Linked DNA regions of Homo sapiens: region 1 is linked to region 2. Evidence: promoter capture Hi-C in human tissues and cell types (Jung and others, 2019). All regions are on one chromosome and are shown on one strand. The core of a region is centred on a gene start or on the middle of the fragment in contact, and the rest is flanking DNA. Distances in the headings are between cores, read along the strand shown. Region 1 overlaps SLC44A5 (solute carrier family 44 member 5). Region 2 holds the start of SLC44A5 (solute carrier family 44 member 5).

Region 1 (4,802 bases), core at 1,016-3,515, 190 kb after region 2:
ACTAATGCCAAATTCAAATTCTCCGGAGGCATAGGGGCATCCAGCAAAGCAACACCCTTTCTAACCACTTGATGGTGTCTTTTCTGCTTATACCCTGAGCAACAAACCATAGGAAACTAATGGTGTTTTAAATGGAAAACAGCAGTTGATTAGGATGGGTTAATAGGTTCTTGGCAAAATTTCAACTTAATGGGTATGCAAGTGTATCTGTGTGTGCTCAGCAAGGCCTGTCCCAGGCCATCTAATGGTGTCACTCAGTACTATAAATTTACTTTGACAGCTAGTAAACAGATAAGTGCGTCCTGGGAGCAGGGAGTATGGAGCTGCTCGCAATTTCCAAAAGACGCAAGGCAAATAGAGCCAGGCACATATTAACGTAGCAAACATTTAACTTTTCTGCTTCTCCAATCTTTAATAGAACGATAGTAAAATAGCAAAATATGATGCGAAAGCTTCATTTCTTAAAATCCTTAAATCATAGACTCTAGTTAGGAATTTAAGGTCAAAATAAAAATACATTGATAAAAATATATACTTTAGGGGAAATAACCAAGGGCCAAGCAATAGTTTAAAGATATCAGCTTTCTTGTTCTGTGTTAGATCAATATTTCTGTTGGCTACAGCTGAGTTGATAGAAGATTCATATAACGAGCAGACAACCATCTAATCTAATTTCACCAGCCATAGGAAACTGCAGTATGATATGTTTATATTTCATTGTTTGCTGAGGAAGCTTGACCTTACTAAGCAGGTTGCTAAGCGTTGTTTCACGGTGTATGTATGAAATTGCCATATGTGTGAGAAATTGCTATAGGTATTCATTCCGTAGAGAGTACTATAGCTTTCTGTTCTTTTTCAGGCAACCAAAATAACACTGCCTACCCCAGAGAATGCTTTTCTTCCAATCCTTGCAACAAAGGCATTTGAGAGATGAATCAGGATTTAATGTCAATAAATGGAACTAGCTTAAGCCTTGGGAATTTTGAGAGCAGAGAAAATGGAAGACTTTACTATTTTATTTTTTGTTTGTTTGTTTCAAATTAGCACATAAAGACAACAGGAAGAGAAGAGGTCTGGCTTCTGTTAAGTCTGAGTCTCTACTATTAGCACCAACCTAATAGAAAGCAGCTATGGGTAGTGGAAAGTGCAATAGACCTAGAGTCAAAATCTAGGCCCAAGTTCCAGTTTGGCCATTTAACCATTGGTCCTCCTGGAAAGATTCACATAACCCCTCTGGGCCAGTTTTCTTGACAGCAAACGGAACAGATAAGGGTTCCTTCATGCAATCAAGGTTTTTTGCAACTGCCAAGTATTCTAGGAGCTTCTTAACATGTAAAACTTGCTGCACATTCCAAATCCCTATTTTTGACATTCCCATTTCTATTGGTAATATAAATATGTCCCTCAGTCAAAACATCTGTAATCGCTACTGTTGTGTATGGTATCAGTTGGTGCAGGATACCGATTATTTACCTAAACTAAATAAACTAAAGTTTACTTTCTAAGTTTTTATCTACACAAATATTTTGAGGTGAAACAAAACTAGCTCATCATAAGGCAATTATGTTTTCATTTATTTGTTGCCAATTATTCACTGCGGACTTGTAAGTCCAAAACACTGTGCTATGCACTCTGGGAAACTGGATAAGGCTATGAATAAGAGTCTCTTCCGGCCTCCTATGATCTTGCAGCCTAGTGAAATGTCCAGATGTGTCCATAACTAGCCTGATAGAAATCATATCTCTTAGAAGAACTATTAGATGACTCTAACCTGGAGGCTTCAATGCTCATTAGTATTCACTCCAGAAAGGGCGTTTGCTTTTCCATGTGTGCCTTTTTCAAAGGGCATTTCATGTCCAAATTTTACATCACATCAGTCTGGGTGAAAAAGCACAGCCTCTTAAGCACACGTGCACACACACACACACCAGTGGTTTTAACAAGTATTTCTTGAGTTCAGTAATTTTATTGAATATCTGAGAGGGGTCACAAGTATGACCATTTTATACAATCACAGCCCACTCCTCAAATTCCTCTCCTTGTCACATGAATAGCAGTCCCAGGACAATTCTTGATATATGGACCACACTTCAAACACTTCACCAAAGTACTTTTTTTTTTTTTCAAAAAAGTAACAGATTTCTTCTAAAGATTTCTGGTGAATAAAATTTTCACCTTATTCCATAAGCTTTTATGAATTGTAAGTTTGTATTATATAACAAAAGCTTTTTTCCACCTACATGTTTCTCCTTCCTCTATTATGTGTTTTTCCCCTTAGCAGTGCAGCAATGAGCTAGTGACATATATAAAACGAACAGCCAGCAATTAGCTCTTTGAGAGCTGTATGCAAAATGGTGATCTTAATGAAAGAAGAGGAAAGCCTTAGCAAATTTCTCAGACTATTAGGGCACCATTGAGGACAATTCTGAAACAGTGTCTCTATGCATTCAGCAAAATGAGCCATAGCACACCACAGTGCAGTGGGTCATTGACAATCCCTTCATGTTGAAAGAAAAAATAAAATAAGAGGATTAACTGGGCTGCCATTTATTCATTTTTTTGCACATATGGCTTATGGCCTACATAAAAATCTCTAACTAGTCAGTATCTTTCTCTGTATAGAAAAAGCAACAACTCCTTTTATTCCTCCTCAAGTTTGCAGTCTTCAGGCGAAATAGGGTGTCTTTAAAATAATGGTGGCTTTTTAGCACCTGCAGGGTTCCTAGTCCTAGATTGGCTGTAGATGTCACATTCTATCTATGTTAATTAAAATAATATAACATGATTTTAGGTATATTTTTATACATACTAACAGTATGTATAAAATTGTTCCCATTTTTCAAGCTATTTTATGGTAAATAATTGTTGTGCTTTGAAAGGGCAAAATTTGAAGTGGACCATATTATAATATATTTGAAAACAATCCTGTGAGAAAGACACAACTATTTCCCCCTCTGAAACAGTAGTTATATTATATTCCAAAGAGATTATTTCCTAGGTGTCTAAATGCTTGCTATTTTCATTTTTGTGACATCTGTGTTCTAATGGCTATTTATTCTATAGCCATTATCAAGTATGGAAGTATCAGGAAAGAAACTTCTAAGGCCTTGGTATTTTGAGAGATACTCTTAACTGTGGGACATAAACGTTTTCACTTGACAGAGAGTAATAGATGAAAGTAAAGTAATTTTGGCCTTTGATATGAAAATTTTTTTTATAAACCAGTCTCTACAATTATTGAGTTATCGTAATTATTAAGAAAATAATGTGGTCAATGTATCAACAAAAAAGTATTTCTCTTATTGAGTGAAGAAAACTTTACATTCCACAATAATCTGAAAACATATAGGCTCTACTCAAAGCACTCAAAACCTAAGAAATTGAGGAATTTATATTGAATAGTCAGTCCCAGAATTTGTGTTTCTATGAACAGCAGATAGTTGTTTCTTGCTTTTTCAAAATTTATGTAAATTTACAAGCTCTGCCTTTTAATTAGTATTTAGACAATTTACTTTTAATCTAATTATCAGTGGAGTTGGGTTTCAAACCCAGCATCTTGCTGTTCATTCATTAATTTGTCCTATCTGTTCTGCGTTCCTTTGTTCCTCTTTTCTTTCCTTCTTTTTGAATGAGCATTTTTTATTATTGTACTTTATCTACACCAATAATTTAATAGCTATACTTTGTTTTATTTTTTACCAATTGTCTTAGTCCACTTGGGCTGCTGTTAACAAACTACCATAGACTGGGTAGCTTATAAACAACAGAAATTTAGTTCTCACAGTTCTGGAGGCTGAGAAGTCTAAGATTAAGGCACCAACAGATTTGGTGTCTGGTGAGGGCCTGTTTCCTCGTTTATAGATAGGTCTTCTCACTGTGTTTTCATAGGGTAGAAGGGATGAGCCATTTCTCCTGGGCCTCTCTTAGAAGGACACTAATCTCATTCATGAAGGCTCTGCCCCCATGAACTATCACCTCCCAAAGGCCTTATCTCCTAATTCCATCATCTTGGGAGTTAAGATTTTAACATATGAATTTTAGCAGGACACAAAATTCACACCATAGCAATGGTTGCTCTAGGGTTCACAGCAGACACGTCTTTAACTTACCAGTTTACATTCAAGTAATATTATACCACTCCATGTATAGTATAAGAATCTCCTGTCCTGGATCTAATTATTGTTGCACATTTAAATTAAATGTGTTATAAACTTCACAATACATTTATATTGTTTTTGCTTTAAATAGCCTATTAGGATTTGAAGAGATTAAAACTGACAAAATTGTATTTATATTTACCTATGTATTTATCATTTCTGATGCTCTTAATTCCTTTGTGTAGATTCAACTTTCTATCTGGTATGATTCTCTTTCTGACAGAGAACTTATTTTAACATTACCATATAGATCTGATAATGAATTCTCTCACTTTTTGCTGTTCTGAAATAAGTCTTTATTTCATCTTCATTTTTGAAAGTTTTTTTTTCCTGGTACAGAATTTCACACGAACAGTCCTTTTTTTTTTTCTCTCTCTTTAGCACTTTAAAGATGTCATTCATTGTCTTAGTTTTCTGATGAGCAGTCTACCGTCATTCATTCTTATCTTTCTTTCTCTGTATATATGTCTTTCTCTGGCTACTTTTAAGATTTTACTTTCTGTTTTGCTGTTTTTCATCAATTTGATTATATTGTTCCTTGGTGTGGTTGACTTCATGTTTATCCTGCCTGGGGTTTGATGAAATTCTTGGCTTTGTGTGTTTATCATTTTATTCCAATTTAAAAAAAAATTATCCATTATTTTT
Region 2 (4,921 bases), core at 749-3,248:
CTGAAGTCCTAGCAAGAGAGACTATCCATAAGCCTAGAAATTGGCCAAAGAGAAATGCAGTTTCTTAACATTGATAGAAGAATAAGATCTGTTGGCAGGATTTCTCAAGGGACATTAGCATTCATTTGTGACATCTCATCAAAAGGACAGTCTTTCAGAAAGGCCAATGGAATCTTTTACAATCCAATATTGATAATGTTTTTAACGAAAAAATGCTATAGTTCATAATCAATACAAGTCTTATAAATGCAAGCTGGTTACATTGGTTATAATCACGTCACCACCCCCACCCCTGCCTTTTCCAATATTAGTACAACAAAGACTTCTTGCTCAATTACTTAAGTGTAAAACTTATGTTTAGGTTAATTTATTCATTTATTCATTTAGCACATATTTATTGAGCACTGAATATGTACCAGATTCTGTGCAAAACACTAGGGATACGGTAATGAACATGATAGACAATGAAGTAAGAGGAGGCCTGGAAGAAGCAGGTGACAAATAATATGAACCAGAAAATTTCACATAGTGATTAATACCAGGAGAAATAAAACAAAGTGATGTGCGAGCAAATGATTTTGAGGTTACTTTAGATTGTCTGGAAAGGTGGCATTTGTGTCGGGAAACAAGTGATGAAGAGTAATTTGCATGCCAAGAACTGGAACATAACACTTCAGGCCTTAAGGTAGAAATGAGGTGGTAGCTTGGCACATTCACATACAAAAGGAAGAGGTGTAATGTGTAAGGAAGAGACAGTTAGGGAGAAGCCAGGCCTTTTTGGTCATAAAAAGGAATATAGAGTTTAAGTGCAATGAGAAGCCATTGGATATTCACTTGCTATTTGGGGATACATTCCTCTCCTGGAAGATTATTTCAGGGAGAGGAGCATTCCTACATCAACTCCCTAGGCCAACTAAGGTGACCTAATAGACTTCACTTTTCTAAAAGGTCCAGTTATACTCACGTTATTTTCTCTTGCTATTCACCAGAATACCTATGCAATTTCAGGCTGAGATATTGATAGCATCTCTAGGAATCCCTGCTTAGAAAACAATTCTAGAGAGAATGAGGATTAATTTAACATTTAGTACAAGATGATAAGATTAGTCACTTCCCTGGCAAGCCTTTCAATGCAAGTAAGTCTTAGGAAAAACATATTGTAATGGTAGAGGGGGATTCTGAGGGGTCCAGAACATGACTGTGCAGTAGGCAGAATGTGGAAGGCAGCATGAGGGGCTCCTAGATAACAGAAAGGGGTCCACAGAAGGAGAAGAGTGATGTTTGGAAGGGGACATGAGAAAGCCTCTAAAACAACATCAGCCAATTCGTGATTTTGCCAAGTGGAAGCCTGATATGAGCATGTTCCAAGAGAAACATTCTCATTCAAACACAGAAAAAGTTTAAACCAGGGTACTTTTATGCTTTTGACTGATCTTTTTATAATGAAGCATTTGTAACAATAAAAGCACACAGATGTTTACAAAGTCTCTTTGATTTTACTTAATCACTGTCAGGTTGTTCTGATGGATTACAGACCTCACAAATGAAAATAGCATGAACATATTAATGATAACTGCTGTTTGTTGGAGGTAGTTGCTTGATAGCTAGTTAAGGAAATCATGCTCTTGGGTCTCATTTTACTGTAGAGATGTTGGTAAGTGGGATATGGGGTATATTGGATGATTTTCTTTCCCCTAAGCATTTGTGACAAGAAGGTGCTATGATATTCAGGAAAGACACAAATAATAGTAGATTATTTTAAAGGTAATCATGGCCTACTTCCACCTCCAAACTACCTACTTCTTTGCCAAGGATTAACAATGAAAAAATATACTATAGCTCCAGGACTTTGTTCAGTCTCCTCCCCCTCTTTATACTCCAAGTGACTCCTTTGAGGCTAGCAAGGCTAGTAGGACCTCAGGGATTACCTAAGAATGGGGTATGGCCCTTAGTGATACTGGAACACAATGTGTTTATGACATCAGCTTTTTTTTCACAGTAGTGAATCGTAGCATGTTAGAGTTAGAAGGTTCAGTGTTGATGGAGTTATTGAAGAAATGATGGAGTAAGAGGTGAGTGATACTGCTAAATGCAAGAAGTCTATGTCTGTAGGAAAATTGGTCAAGTTTGTTATTCATAAGTACGTATTCTATACAACTCAAGAAATACACACACACACACACATATATATAGTGAAGTCTGAATATAAATTAGGAACTGAGCACTTCCTCTCCGTGTGTGTGTGTGTATATATATAGATATCCTGGGGGATTATTTAAAGAGAGTAGTATTTTTACATCAGCTCCCTAGGCCAAGTAAGGTGACCCAATGGACTTCACTTTTCTAAAAAGTCCAGTTACACTTATGTATCTTCTCTTAATATTCACCAAAATATCGACAATATTTCGGGCTGAGATGTTGATAACATCTCTAGGAATCCTTACCTACTGGTATTCACACCTGTTCATACTCCCCTTCCAAAATGAATCACAGCTGACCATGTGATCAGTACTGTACAGCAGAAAACTACATCATAAAGACATACACTATGGCTTCTGCCTTGTTCTTTTGTATTCTTTGCTTTCTTATGTTGCTCATTTTGGGGAAACCAGATGCCATGTTTTAAAAATACTCAAGGATCCCTTGGATTATTTTTTGAAGCAGAGGTTCATACAGATATTATTAACATTTCAGCCCAAAATATTGTCGGTATTTTGATGAATAGTAAGAGAAGATACATAAGTATAACTGCACTTTTTAGAAAAGTGAAGTCCATTGGGTCACCTTACTTGGCCTAGGGAGCTGATGTAGAAATATTGCTCTCTCTAAATAATTCTCCAGGATATCTATGTGTATATAGGTATATGTATGTATATGTATATACCTATGGAGAGAGAAGAAGAGCTCAGTTCCTAATTTATATTCAGACTTCACTATGTGTGTGTGTGTGTGTGTGTGTGTGTGTGTGTGTGTGTATTTCTTGACTTGCATAGAAGTCTTGAATCTTAGCTCTGTGTGGGAAGAACTGAGGCCTCCTGCTAATAGCAACAACTTGCTAGTTATGTGAGTGATCTATCTTGGGAACAGACCCTGCAACCAAGTCAAGCCTTCAGATGACTGTAGCTTCAGCCAACATCTGACTGAATTTCATGATAGCCCCGACCCAGAGCTATCCAATCAAGCTGCTTCTGGATTCCTGAATCACAGAAACCATAAGATATAATAAATGCTTACTCTTGTCTTAAACCACTAAAATTTGGGGGTAATAGGTTACATAACATTAGATCATGAATATACCTGTGGTTCATTATTTTTGCACCTCTATCATGAAATGTAATATTTGTTACTAGTTCCAACACTGATCTTGAATCTTAGCCCTCTTTCCTATTTAGTGAATTGGGCTGAAACCCTGAAGTTCTCTTTTCTTGTTTCCCTTGAGTTTCTTGTAGCAGCTTGCTTTCTCCTCTGCTTTTTTGAGTACTGATTCCTGGCTCCTCTAGTTCATTTAGTTTAGAAGATACTTTCCAAATTGAAGCACTACCGAACCAAAAATCAGAGTGATAAAGAGAATACAAAAGCCCTAAAATCTCCCAACAGCACAAGATTTCACAGTCCTCCAAACTAAGAAGATAGAAAGTTTCTTAAAATCTACAATCTTTTATTCTCACCATCAAAAATAAGAATGTAAGGTAATGAATATGTTAAATAGCTTGATTTAGCCATTCCACAATGTGTATATATATCAAAACATCAGGTTTCACACCATAAATATATAAATTTTTACTTGCCAATTAAAAAAGAAAAAACCCAAAGAAATGAAACCCTAAAATATTCAAATAAAAACCTTTCCAGCTGTATTTATCTATTCCTCCTTACCAAAGAATCCCTTCCTCCTCCCAGCCCAGTTAGTCCTTTGAGGTATAAATAGGAGACTGAGAAAGAGGATTTAAGAAAGGAAGGTTGCCGTCTCTTCTACTTGAGAGTAGGATATTAATCTATTTTATTCGTTCATGTAGTTCTCTATTCATTCAATAAGTGTTAATCAATCGCTTACTATGTACTGGGCACTATTCTAAGCATGCTTGGGATAAATCAGGGAACAAAATGAATTCTTCATGAGGTTTACACTATACATAGGGAAGACAAACAATGAATAATAAGCATGAATACATTGTTGATATTAAAAATTGAAAAGTGCCATGACAGAAAGAAAAAAAAATGAGCATAGTAAGGGGGATTTGGATTGCTAATCATGGGATGATGGTGGGCCAGCTGCAAGTATTAATAGGGTGGTTAGGGTAGGACCAATTGACGAGGTAATATTGAAGGACATGAAGCAGTGGAAGGGGAGGAGACTTCCAGAAGGAAGGAAAAGCCAGAGCAAAGACCCTACAGTGAAAATATACCTGGTATGTTTGACTAACAGAAAGAAGACCAAGTGGAATTAGTAAGGGGGATAGAAATAGAAAATGAAGTCAGAAAGATGAGGGAAGACTAAATTATATTAAACTTTTTAGAAAGTTTTAAGACTTTGGTTTTTACTCTGGGGAAATGTGGCACCAGTTCAGATTTTGAACAGAGGAAAAATATGATCTGACTTACATTTTAAAATAATTGCTACGGCGACTGTGTTGAGAATATCGAGCCAATATGTAGGGGTAATGAGAAACTAGAAGACTAGTAAGGAATCTTTTGCAATAACTCTTTAAAAATTTTCTTCTTCTGGTGGCTGAATAATACTCCATTGTGTACACACACAACACACACACACACACACACATACCCCTCACATTTTGTTTATCCATTCATCTGTGGATAGACACGTAGGTTGATTCCATATCTTTTTCTCTGGAAAAATATATTTTCAGTTCCTTTGCCTATTTTTAAGTTGGGTTATTTGTTTTTTTTTGTTTTTTGTTTT

The links. The method cuts DNA at HindIII sites, captures the fragments that hold promoters and counts their contacts. A contact is called where the count stands out against the background at its distance.
Region 1: a fragment that was not itself captured here is called in contact with the fragment with the promoter of SLC44A5 in region 2 in 1 of the 25 tissues and cell types used here (hippocampus).

What each region holds. Positions count from the first base shown.
Region 1 is chr1:75,419,196-75,423,997 of GRCh38, reverse strand. The region is part of intron 2 of SLC44A5 (solute carrier family 44 member 5); the gene reads left to right. Among named protein-coding and RNA genes, the nearest start is that of SLC44A5, 190 kb to the left of the region's middle. The HindIII fragment of the contact is 3,343 bases long and covers 594-3,936 here.
Region 2 is chr1:75,608,191-75,613,111 of GRCh38, reverse strand. SLC44A5 (solute carrier family 44 member 5) reads left to right here and starts at 1,998. Exons shown (of 24, transcript NM_001130058.2): 1 at 1,998-2,072. The HindIII fragment of the contact is 17,791 bases long and covers 1-4,921 here.